Linked DNA regions of Homo sapiens: region 1 is linked to region 2. Evidence: promoter capture Hi-C in 16 types of primary human blood cells and fetal thymus (Javierre and others, 2016). All regions are on one chromosome and are shown on one strand. The core of a region is centred on a gene start or on the middle of the fragment in contact, and the rest is flanking DNA. Distances in the headings are between cores, read along the strand shown. Region 1 has its middle 9.9 kb from the start of PTCHD1. Region 2 holds the start of DDX53 (DEAD-box helicase 53).

The links. The method cuts DNA at HindIII sites, captures the fragments that hold promoters and counts their contacts. A CHiCAGO score of 5 or more calls a contact.
Region 1: a fragment that was not itself captured here is called in contact with the fragment with the promoter of DDX53 in region 2 in 1 of 17 cell types (megakaryocytes); the score reaches 5.5 in megakaryocytes.

What each region holds. Positions count from the first base shown.
Region 1 is chrX:23,322,530-23,327,444 of GRCh38, forward strand. No RefSeq gene overlaps it. Among named protein-coding and RNA genes, the nearest start is that of PTCHD1, 9.9 kb to the right of the region's middle. The HindIII fragment of the contact is 451 bases long and covers 3,234-3,684 here.
Region 2 is chrX:22,996,309-23,001,314 of GRCh38, forward strand. It overlaps DDX53 (DEAD-box helicase 53), which reads left to right and starts at 3,652. Exons shown (of 1, transcript NM_182699.4): 1 at 3,652-5,006. The coding sequence starts at 3,750. The region is part of intron 3 of PTCHD1-AS (PTCHD1 and PHEX antisense RNA); the gene reads right to left. The HindIII fragment of the contact is 5,370 bases long and covers 1,463-5,006 here.

The sequences.
Region 1 (4,915 bases), core at 2,209-4,708, 330 kb after region 2:
AATTGGACAAGCTTCCAAGGGGGTCCAAACCAGACCCATGATTGTAACTCAGACATTGGCCTTCTGCCTACATCAAAGCCATAACAGTGGGCGTGTTATATAAATCTTTGTGGTCTTCTCACAACTTTCTCTGAGTCTTCCACTTCCTTTTTGCCTCCACCTCCTTTCTTTCCCCTTCTGACTATGAGTGGTCCCTAGAATCCAACTTTACTCCTTCATTAGAGATTCTATAGATGTGAGGTGCCACAGCAAGATGTGGACATGTGAATCTGAAATTCAGGATCCCTAAACAAATAGCTTCTCATATCTATCTAAGTAATACACTGGTCTAATCCAATACACTTTCTAGACAATCTCACTAATTCTTATTAGGATAGTATGGGGATTTTCAAGTAACATTTTAAGATATTTTTTAAATGATTTTTACAAGAAAGAGAATTTAAAGATATATCAAGAATGAGATTGCAAAGGTTTGTGAAATTAACATCTAGTAATAAGTAGAGAAAAATTTAGAATATATAATGATATAACAGCAAAAACATAGCTAGTGGGAATGTATGATGGTTCAGGTACTTTTGAAAACAGTTTGGCAGTTTCTTAAGATGTTAAGCATGGAGTTATGAAATGACCCAGCAATTCCACTCCTAGGTATATATCCAAAAGAAATGTGGACTTATGTCCACATAAAATGTTATTCACAAATGTTCATACCAGCATCATTTATAATAGGACTAAAAATACGTCATTAAAATGGTCTCATATTTATAGTGCCCTGGCAACGGGGCAATGAAAGAATGAGTGTCTAATACTATAAAATGTTGGTCCTATTTTCTTCAATGTGATTGCTAACTGTGTAAATTAAAGCAAGCAAGCTTGTGTGTGTGTGTGTGTGTGTGTGTGTGTGTGTGTGTGTTTCCTAACAGAAGTATAAGATGCCATCAGGTAATAATAGGGGCCTTGTGTATGGAGTGCATGGTGTTTGGTCACCTTCAGGGATGGATTCTAGCAGGTCATCAGAATGAAAATCCCCAATCCCCAGCTCTGCATTATAAAGATAAAAAGAATTGAGATGAACCAAAGACAGGAGGTTTTCCAGAGACTCTCACCCACGAAAGCCAATCATTTCCTCCCCCTCCTCCTTCTTCTTCTTCCAGATTTACCTCCTTTCCTTCTTCAGATGAAGTTGTCTCACGCAAGCAACTGGTCCTAAAATCTAACTCAATTATTTGAGAAGGAAGGACATTTATTAACCCACATGAATCTCTACACTGTGGATTTCATCTAATGGATCGTAGCCTCTACCTTGTGGACTCTCCAGACCATTTTCCAGGATGCTGGTCCCCATTGTCCAGCTCTCATTCCCAAAATATCATAATCACCCTCTATTTGTCATAGTCTAGAGCTTAACACAGTCCACCTTTTTTCCTTCCTCACTCTGATAAGAAATTCTGTTCTTCAGTGGAATTTGGTAAAAATAAAAAATAAACTAATACTTCTGGGGTTGGATATGGTTTGGCATGGCTATTTGGAATGACATTATGTCATCAGAAATCACGATGCAGTATCTTAGCTCCATTCTTCAATAATCCAAGTCCTGCCAATTCTATCTCCCTAAAAACATATCAACTCTTCCCTTTGTCTCCATCCCACTGGCCTCTACCTTGCTTCAGGCCCTAATCCTTTCTTGTCATAGCTATTATCATGACCTCCTAATTGGTCTCTTAGCCTCTAGTCTTGTTTTCCCTTATCCACCTCCTATGTGGCCACCAGATTTGTAAAACATAAACAAACATAAACCCGGCCATAAACACTCTTTAAAGCCCTGAAATGGCTCCCTGTCATCTCCAGAATAAAAACCCAGCTCTTTATTTGAACTTATAAGTTCCTTTTTAACCTAGTTCCTGTATACTTTTCCAAACTATTGCCTATCCATCCTGAGCTATTCATATTTCCGAAAACAAGCTAAGCCCTTTATCCCATCCTTATAATTTCGAATGTTATTCCCGCTGCCTGGAATATTCTTTCTCTCCATAGGTGGGTTAGCTAACTCTTTTACTTAACAGCTTTACTGAAATATAGTTTACATACCAGCACATTTATTAGGCTTAACTAACTGCTAACCTTTGAGACTCCATTTGGATGTCATCTCCTGTGTTTGGTTGGGTTCCACTAAAGACAGATCCTGAAATAAATATGTGGAAGCAAGAGGTTTATTTCAGAGAAGATTCCCAGAAAGCAGAGTAACGGAATGGAGAAAGGAGACAGAGAAGAGAGAAAAGTTTATAAAGGGTGTGTTAATGAGCATGAGTGTGTTATTGCTGTGGACAATGAGGGCTCCACTCCATTGGAATTCTTGGAGAGCCTGTGAGAAACACATCTCTGAGTTGTCCCACTGCAAGGCAAAGAAGCCTGGGTATTTATCCTATCCCTCATTAATTTAAGGTCATTTCTAGAGGTGTTAGCTCTCTGGCATTTCTAGTGTGTCTCATGGGCAGGAAACAGCTCAGACAGAGAGAGGCAGGAAGACTTCGGTGTAAATGGAAACTACCTAGAATGAACTTCTGGGGGTGGGGGGAGGGGATAAGGATGGAGCACCAGATGGCATCTGTGCACATCTTCTTTAAAACTTTTCCAACCCCGCCGCCCCACCCTGCCCGACTCTGCTTTTCAGGCTAGGTTAGAGGAACCTTCTCACTGATCGCATAGCACGACAAAGTCCTTGCCACACTACACAACTTTCTTGTTTCACTTGTTGGCCACACTCCACTGCACTGTGGACACCTTGAAGGCAAGGTCTTTACATCTCTTCATGCTCCGCATTTAGCAAAGCGTCCTGGACCTAGAAGGCCCAATAATGTATGTGTTTGTTTCAAAGCATTTTACATTTATCATCAACTTTTGCATCTGAAACCCTGCTTAGGAGGGAGATAGCATAATCATCATCTTCATTATTCTCATTTTAAGGATAGAAATCTTAACTGCAGTGATGTAACAGAGCAGATGAAGGACCTTATCTGTTGATGACTAGGCCAGTACCCAAACTACTTTAGTTCCTGTTGCTTAGCACACTGCAGGAGGTAATGGCATTCACCTGAGGCTAAACCTTTCAACCCATGGCAGAACAGAGCTTTCCATGTCCAGAATAATCCCCTTTACAATATTCAGAAGATGCCTGAAGGTGGAAGCAGGGCAGCCCTAGAAATGCCAAGTTCTGTGCTTTGTCTAAAAAAGGAAGCTTTGATTTTTTTTTTGGTCTTCCCTCACTTAGCCTCTCCTTGGAGCTGCCTCCTGATTTAACTTTTCTACAATTCTAATATTTGTGAATATGTAAATCAGATTTTACTATTAATTAATTCACCAACATAATGCCATTTATGAGAAGGAAGTGATCAGCCACGGGGAACAGAATGCCTTGTAGCTCTGTCATTTTTAAAAGTCAAAGCAAGAAGTACACAGTTCTAATAACAGAAGGGATGAAGTGCTTTGTTCTTAGGTTATGCTCTGGAGTACGAGTTTTAAAAGGATTAAATATATAAACATCAAAGAAAGACTGCCCCGAAGCTAAGAGTTGTATCAGGAAACCCCCTGCTTTCCTATGTCCCCTATGTTCAAACGTAAGACAATGGATCTGGTGATTAGAATGGTCTCTGTTCACTTTACACAGTAAAGGAAGAGAATTAAAGAAGCTTTCCCTTAGCAATATCACGACTACTGGTGAACAACTAAAAAATGGAAACATTTTAACATGCATAAGGTCAGAGTCTATTCAGTTCCTTTTTCTGTTATGTATTTTGGAACCACTTGACAGTTTTCCGTTTTAACATTTTGAGGGATTTTTCTTGGTAGAATTCAGACAAGGACTGCAGAAGTTTTGCCATCTGCAAAAAGAGTGGGTTGGATTAGATTAGCAAACACTTTGGGTTCCATACAATATTTTTGTTGGTCCACAAAACTCCTCTGAAGAATACCAACATTAGAAATGAATCCAAACACTGAAAACCCGATTAATGGATAGGCCACAATATTGCCATTTTACAGTACCATTAAATGAATAGCAAATACAGAAATAACATTAAATTGTTTATAATATTCATGGCATATTATGTTTTCTGATTAGAACGTTTTTAAATCTAGTCAAGGCATTTTAGAAATGGAATCAAGTAATTTTTTGCTTAACAGCAGAATGAGTGAATGGAAAAACATGGATTTTGATATCAGATAGTCCTGCACTCTATTTATACTTCCATTACGGTGTAACCCTGCACAAGACATTTAATCTCCTTAATCCTCAATTTCCTCTCTTTAAAATGGGTTTGACAATGCTTAATAGCCCACAGAGTGATTTTGCAAATTATATAGGCTAGACACTTGAAAGTGCCTAGGGCTAACCTTGGCACATGAAATGCATAAAAATATTCTTTTCCCATTTTCTATCATTCCTGTAAATTTTCAGCACGATTACTCCTTAACTGCAAGAGATTATATTTTAGAGTCATTTCTAACATTTCTCTTTAAATGTCTCCCTCCTCATACAAACATCACAAGGGTATAAAAGTAATGGACACAATTTGAAATATGATCATATTGGATTAGTGGCCCACCAATTTAAATTTATTTTCATCTTAATTGGCCTGGCTTAGAAAAAGATGATCAACTCCTGTATTATATTACTTTATAGAACCTCTTTAGCTCTAAAATGTTTCTAAAACCAACTTACAAGTGATGGAAGTTGGAAAGGGTAGGGGTAGCTAGGTTATATCAGATCTGTCCCTGGTGCTGAAAGTGAGCAATGTACCTAAACTCTCCTCATATAGATGCAGTAGAGGGGAAACTAGCGCGACTTAATGAAAATCCTGAATTGTGCCTTGTTTGCTATTAAGAAAGTGACATTACTCAGGCATCTCCAGAATACAGT
Region 2 (5,006 bases), core at 2,402-4,901:
CCTTAATTGAGCTGACAAATATTTTTTCCAACTGATACGGGCAATTGTAAATGGTAATGAATCATCCTGAAAGCACAATCCCTCTCAGTATCTTCAATACCCACAAGTCTTCTACCAGTTCTGTGTCATCACAGTAATTCACCACAATGAGTTCCACCTTAAAGTGCACTGCTCTCTACCCAGATTTTACAACTACCCCTCTCCCAACAATATGACTTTTCTTCACTTCACTTTCATGGCCTCTTCTATTTTTCTGTATCACCCACAAAAAATAAGAATAGAAGCAAGTCACTTCGTAGTAAAGGAGTAATGTCCTGTACTATTTTCCCGACTGGCCACAAGTCAACAAATGGTTCTAAATTTTTACTCTCAATAATTTGCTGAGTACCTTCAGTCAATTCCAGAAAGATTTTGGAACCTCAATTTCACTCTCTGTAATAAGGGAGAACAAAATGACCTCTGATGTACCCAACACCTGTAGAATTCTACAGTTCTGTAATATTAACTATTATTCAAAGTAAAGATGAAGGCATAAAGACAGAGAAACATAATACATCCTTCAAGAGGTAAAAGCCACGTGTAACTAAACAAATTTCCTTTTAAAATAATGAATAAACTAGAAGACATTGAGAATGCCTTAAAATTCCTAATACAATTCATGGAGAAGTATGGAGGAGTTGTAATGTGACTTGATCAGAATATATCCGGTTCAACAACCAGATGAAAAAAAAAAATTGGTCAGGTAATTTGTATTTATCCATACCAGTGGTTTCCAAAATACATTCCAAAGAACACTACTAATTGTAAAAAATAATAATAAAGATTGCATTTAAATGCAAACTGAGCCCTTGAGGGTTGTCTGGACTTAGTGACTCATTCCACAAAATAGAGTATGGAAAGGGAGAAATAATAATTTTACAGTGTAGAAAACTTGAATAACACAAATTATCCAAGGGACCGAGGTTGACCTTACCAATGATGGGTCACGTTGACATCAGGTACCTATCTCCCCAGTATGATGTGATGAGATAGGCTCTTCATCTCTGTGATATTTTCTTCCAAAAGCCCATAACCCCAGTCTAATCATGAGAAGTTACATCAAGCATACCTTTTTGAAGGACATTCTACAAAATTCCTGATCATTACTCCTCAAAACTGGAAAGATTATGAAAAATAAGAAAAAACTGAGAAACTCTCACAAACTGTACATAACTAAATGCAGTATGGTGTCCTGGAGTGGAACTTGAAACCGAAAAAATACATTAATGGAAAACTGGTAGCATAAAGTTTGGAATTTAGCTAATGGTAACACACCAATAGTGTTTTCCTATATTTGACAAATGTATCATGATAATGAGATATGATAAGATTAGAGGAAACTGAAACTGGCTGAGGCTATACAGGAACCTCTCTGCACTACCTCCGTAACTGTTCTGTGAATCTGAAATTATTCCAAATAAAAAGCTTATTTAAATAATTGATGAAGATATCCATTAGCAAATTCGTTTGGGGAACTTTGGATTAAACAACTGATTTTTCTCAATGTCTGTAAATATCATAGCTCCTAAAATATCCAATAAGCATTGTGATTTTAACAGAGAGAATATAGGGTGCTGTGTTTCTCAAACATATTTGACCAGAAACCTTTTTATTTCTTCAAATAGCATCTTTTACAAAAAGTACTGACACAGAGAAGTTTTCTCCCAAGGTGTCAGACTTCTGTCCTATACTAGACCATGATGAAATTTTAATCAGTGACTGACTAAAGAGACAAAGATGCTATGAACATTAAATTGGCAGAAGACTTGAAACTAGAGACTAATATGATGGATGACAGAATAATCATTAAAATTATATTTCATAGGTTACATCAATTGATCAAACTTAATAAGATGACTATAAAAGGATACATACATAGTCTTCATTTAGGTAAGCAAATTAAAAAAAAAATCAGCTGAGTAAGTAAAAGAAGCAAGAACTTAAATGCACGTCATGTTACTGTGAGCAGCTTTGTGTCTCAGGAGTTCTTAGGTCAAATTAGTAGAATTGTCATGCTCAGTAAAGATGCCCTAATAGTAGGAGTAATGCCATTTCTGCAGATTGTTTGCTTGTCTTTTCCTGTTTTTTAGTTCTGCGTGCTACATTGTAAATGGTCCTCAATGAACCATTTCCAAAGGAGAGGCAATAGGATGATGTGTGTCTTGGAAACCATGTCATAGCAAGAAACGTCGAAGAAACTGGAAATGTTGCCCTGATGCACAGAAAACTTTGACAGAGGCTGGGCGCGGTGGCTCACACCTGTAATCCCAGCACTTTGGGAGGCCAAGGCGGGTGGATCACCTGAGGTCAGGAGTTCGAGACCAGCCTGGCCAACATGGTGAAACCCTGTCTCTACTAAAAATACAAAAAATTAGCCAGGCTTGGTGGCAGGCACCTGTAATCCCAGATACTCGGGAGGCTGAGGCAGGAGAATCACTTGAACCCGGGAGGCCAAGGTTGCAGCGAGCCAAGATCATGCTATTGCACTCCAGCCTGGCCAACAAGAGTGAAACCCCATCTCAAAAAAAAAAAAAAAAAAAAAGAAAGAAAGAAAAGAAAAAGAAAAAAAAGAAAACTTTGACAGATCCTTTAGTACACAAGGATACAGGAGAATCAAGCCTATTCTGTATAACTTCAGAACTCAGAAGGACTTAAGGACACAGGAAGCCGCACGTTTTGGTTCAAAAAACTTTTGTAACCATTAAACAGCCTCATAATGGAATGGATATTTTTGAAATGAAGTGAGCTCCCTGCCTCTGGGAGTGTCTAAATGGAAGCTGGATATCCCTCTGTCCAGACTGCAGCTAGAATGTCTTCTACGTGTACCTAATAAATGAGTTCTACACAACCTTCCAGTGCTAAGGTCTCAGAAGCTATCAAACCACAGGGAAGGAAAAAAAATGAAGAGGCACTGAGAAAAGTGACAAACCACTAAAAACAGCCCCTAAAGTACCTTAGGCACTGCTTTACCTCTCTTCTAACCATCATCCCTGTAATAATATCTGGAAACTGCCTAAACAAGTGTTGACATTTAGTTGATGAATTAAGGCAAAACGCTGTCCTAGAGTGTGCACCTAAGAGATTTCTGATTAGTAGAATTTAAGTTACACTAGAGGACAGGGAATGATGAATTTATCCTGACAAAGTACTGTATTCACTCCAAAAGAAATTTACCAAAATAAATGAACACACGAATATATAAATAAATAGTTTTACTTTAAATGCATTATTTTTTTCTCTTAGGGAAATAACTGGCTTATATAAAGGACAATGTGTATATGGTGTGTATGTTTAAGGCGTGCTTCAAGGTTGCTCTCAAGCTGAGCCAGAACTATCACGAGAAGAGTGAAAGGAGCACCCGGGACGCAGAAGTTAAGGAGGCAGTTACTCCTAGGGTCCTGTAAGTGCTGGCAGGGTCAGCCCGTGAGAGTGAGTGCCTCTTTAAATTTGCGTCACAGACGCCTGCTTACCTCACCCCAGTCCAAGCCCTGTGATTGGTCAGGCCATCAAAGCCTCGCCCCCTACACGACCCGGAATTCGACGCCAACACTGGTTTCTGGGGCAACTTCTGCGTAGCTATGTGACTAGCACCCGGAAATAATTGCCACCGCCATCTTTTGGTGCAGAAGGTGACGGGAAACAGGCCGCAGACCTGAACTTCCAACCGTATGTAGGCGAGAAGCCGGTGCCGATACTCCCACTATCCCACAATGTCCCACTGGGCCCCAGAGTGGAAGAGGGCGGAGGCTAATCCAAGAGACCTTGGGGCCAGCTGGGATGTCAGGGGCAGCAGAGGCAGTGGCTGGAGTGGCCCCTTCGGCCATCAGGGACCGAGAGCAGCAGGCTCCCGTGAACCACCACTCTGCTTTAAAATAAAGAACAATATGGTTGGTGTGGTCATTGGTTACAGTGGATCAAAAATAAAAGATCTACAACATTCGACAAACACTAAAATACAGATCATAAACGGGGAATCTGAAGCAAAAGTCAGAATTTTTGGCAATAGGGAAATGAAAGCAAAGGCCAAAGCGGCTATAGAAACACTTATTAGAAAACAAGAAAGCTACAACTCAGAATCCAGTGTGGATAATGCTGCATCCCAAACCCCTATTGGAAGAAATCTAGGCAGAAATGACATTGTTGGAGAAGCTGAGCCATTGTCAAATTGGGATCGCATTAGGGCAGCAGTCGTGGAGTGCGAAAAGAGAAAATGGGCAGATCTACCACCAGTTAAGAAAAACTTTTACATAGAATCCAAAGCAACAAGCTGCATGTCTGAAATGCAGGTGATTAACTGGAGAAAGGAAAATTTCAACATAACGTGTGATGACTTGAAAAGTGGTGAAAAGCGTCTCATTCCAAAACCAACTTGCAGGTTTAAAGACGCTTTTCAGCAATACCCTGATCTTCTGAAAAGCATAATAAGGGTAGGGATTGTAAAGCCAACGCCAATTCAGTCACAGGCATGGCCAATTATTCTACAAGGAATAGATCTTATAGTAGTTGCACAAACCGGAACAGGGAAAACATTGTCCTATCTAATGCCTGGGTTTATTCATCTTGATTCTCAACCAATATCTAGAGAGCAAAGGAATGGGCCTGGGATGCTAGTCCTTACACCCACTAGAGAGTTGGCTCTTCACGTGGAAGCTGAATGTTCAAAGTATTCATATAAAGGTCTCAAAAGCATTTGCATATATGGTGGTAGAAACAGAAATGGACAAATAGAAGACATTAGCAAAGGTGTAGATATCATTATTGCAACTCCTGGGAGGCTGAATGACCTACAAATGAATAACTCTGTCAACCTAAGAAGCATAACCTACTTGGTTATAGATGAGGCAGATAAAATGCTGGATATGGAATTTGAACCCCAGATAAGGAAGATTTTATTAGATGTGCGCCCAGACCGACAGACTGTTATGACAAGTGCAACTTGGCCAGATACTGTACGTCAACTAGCACTT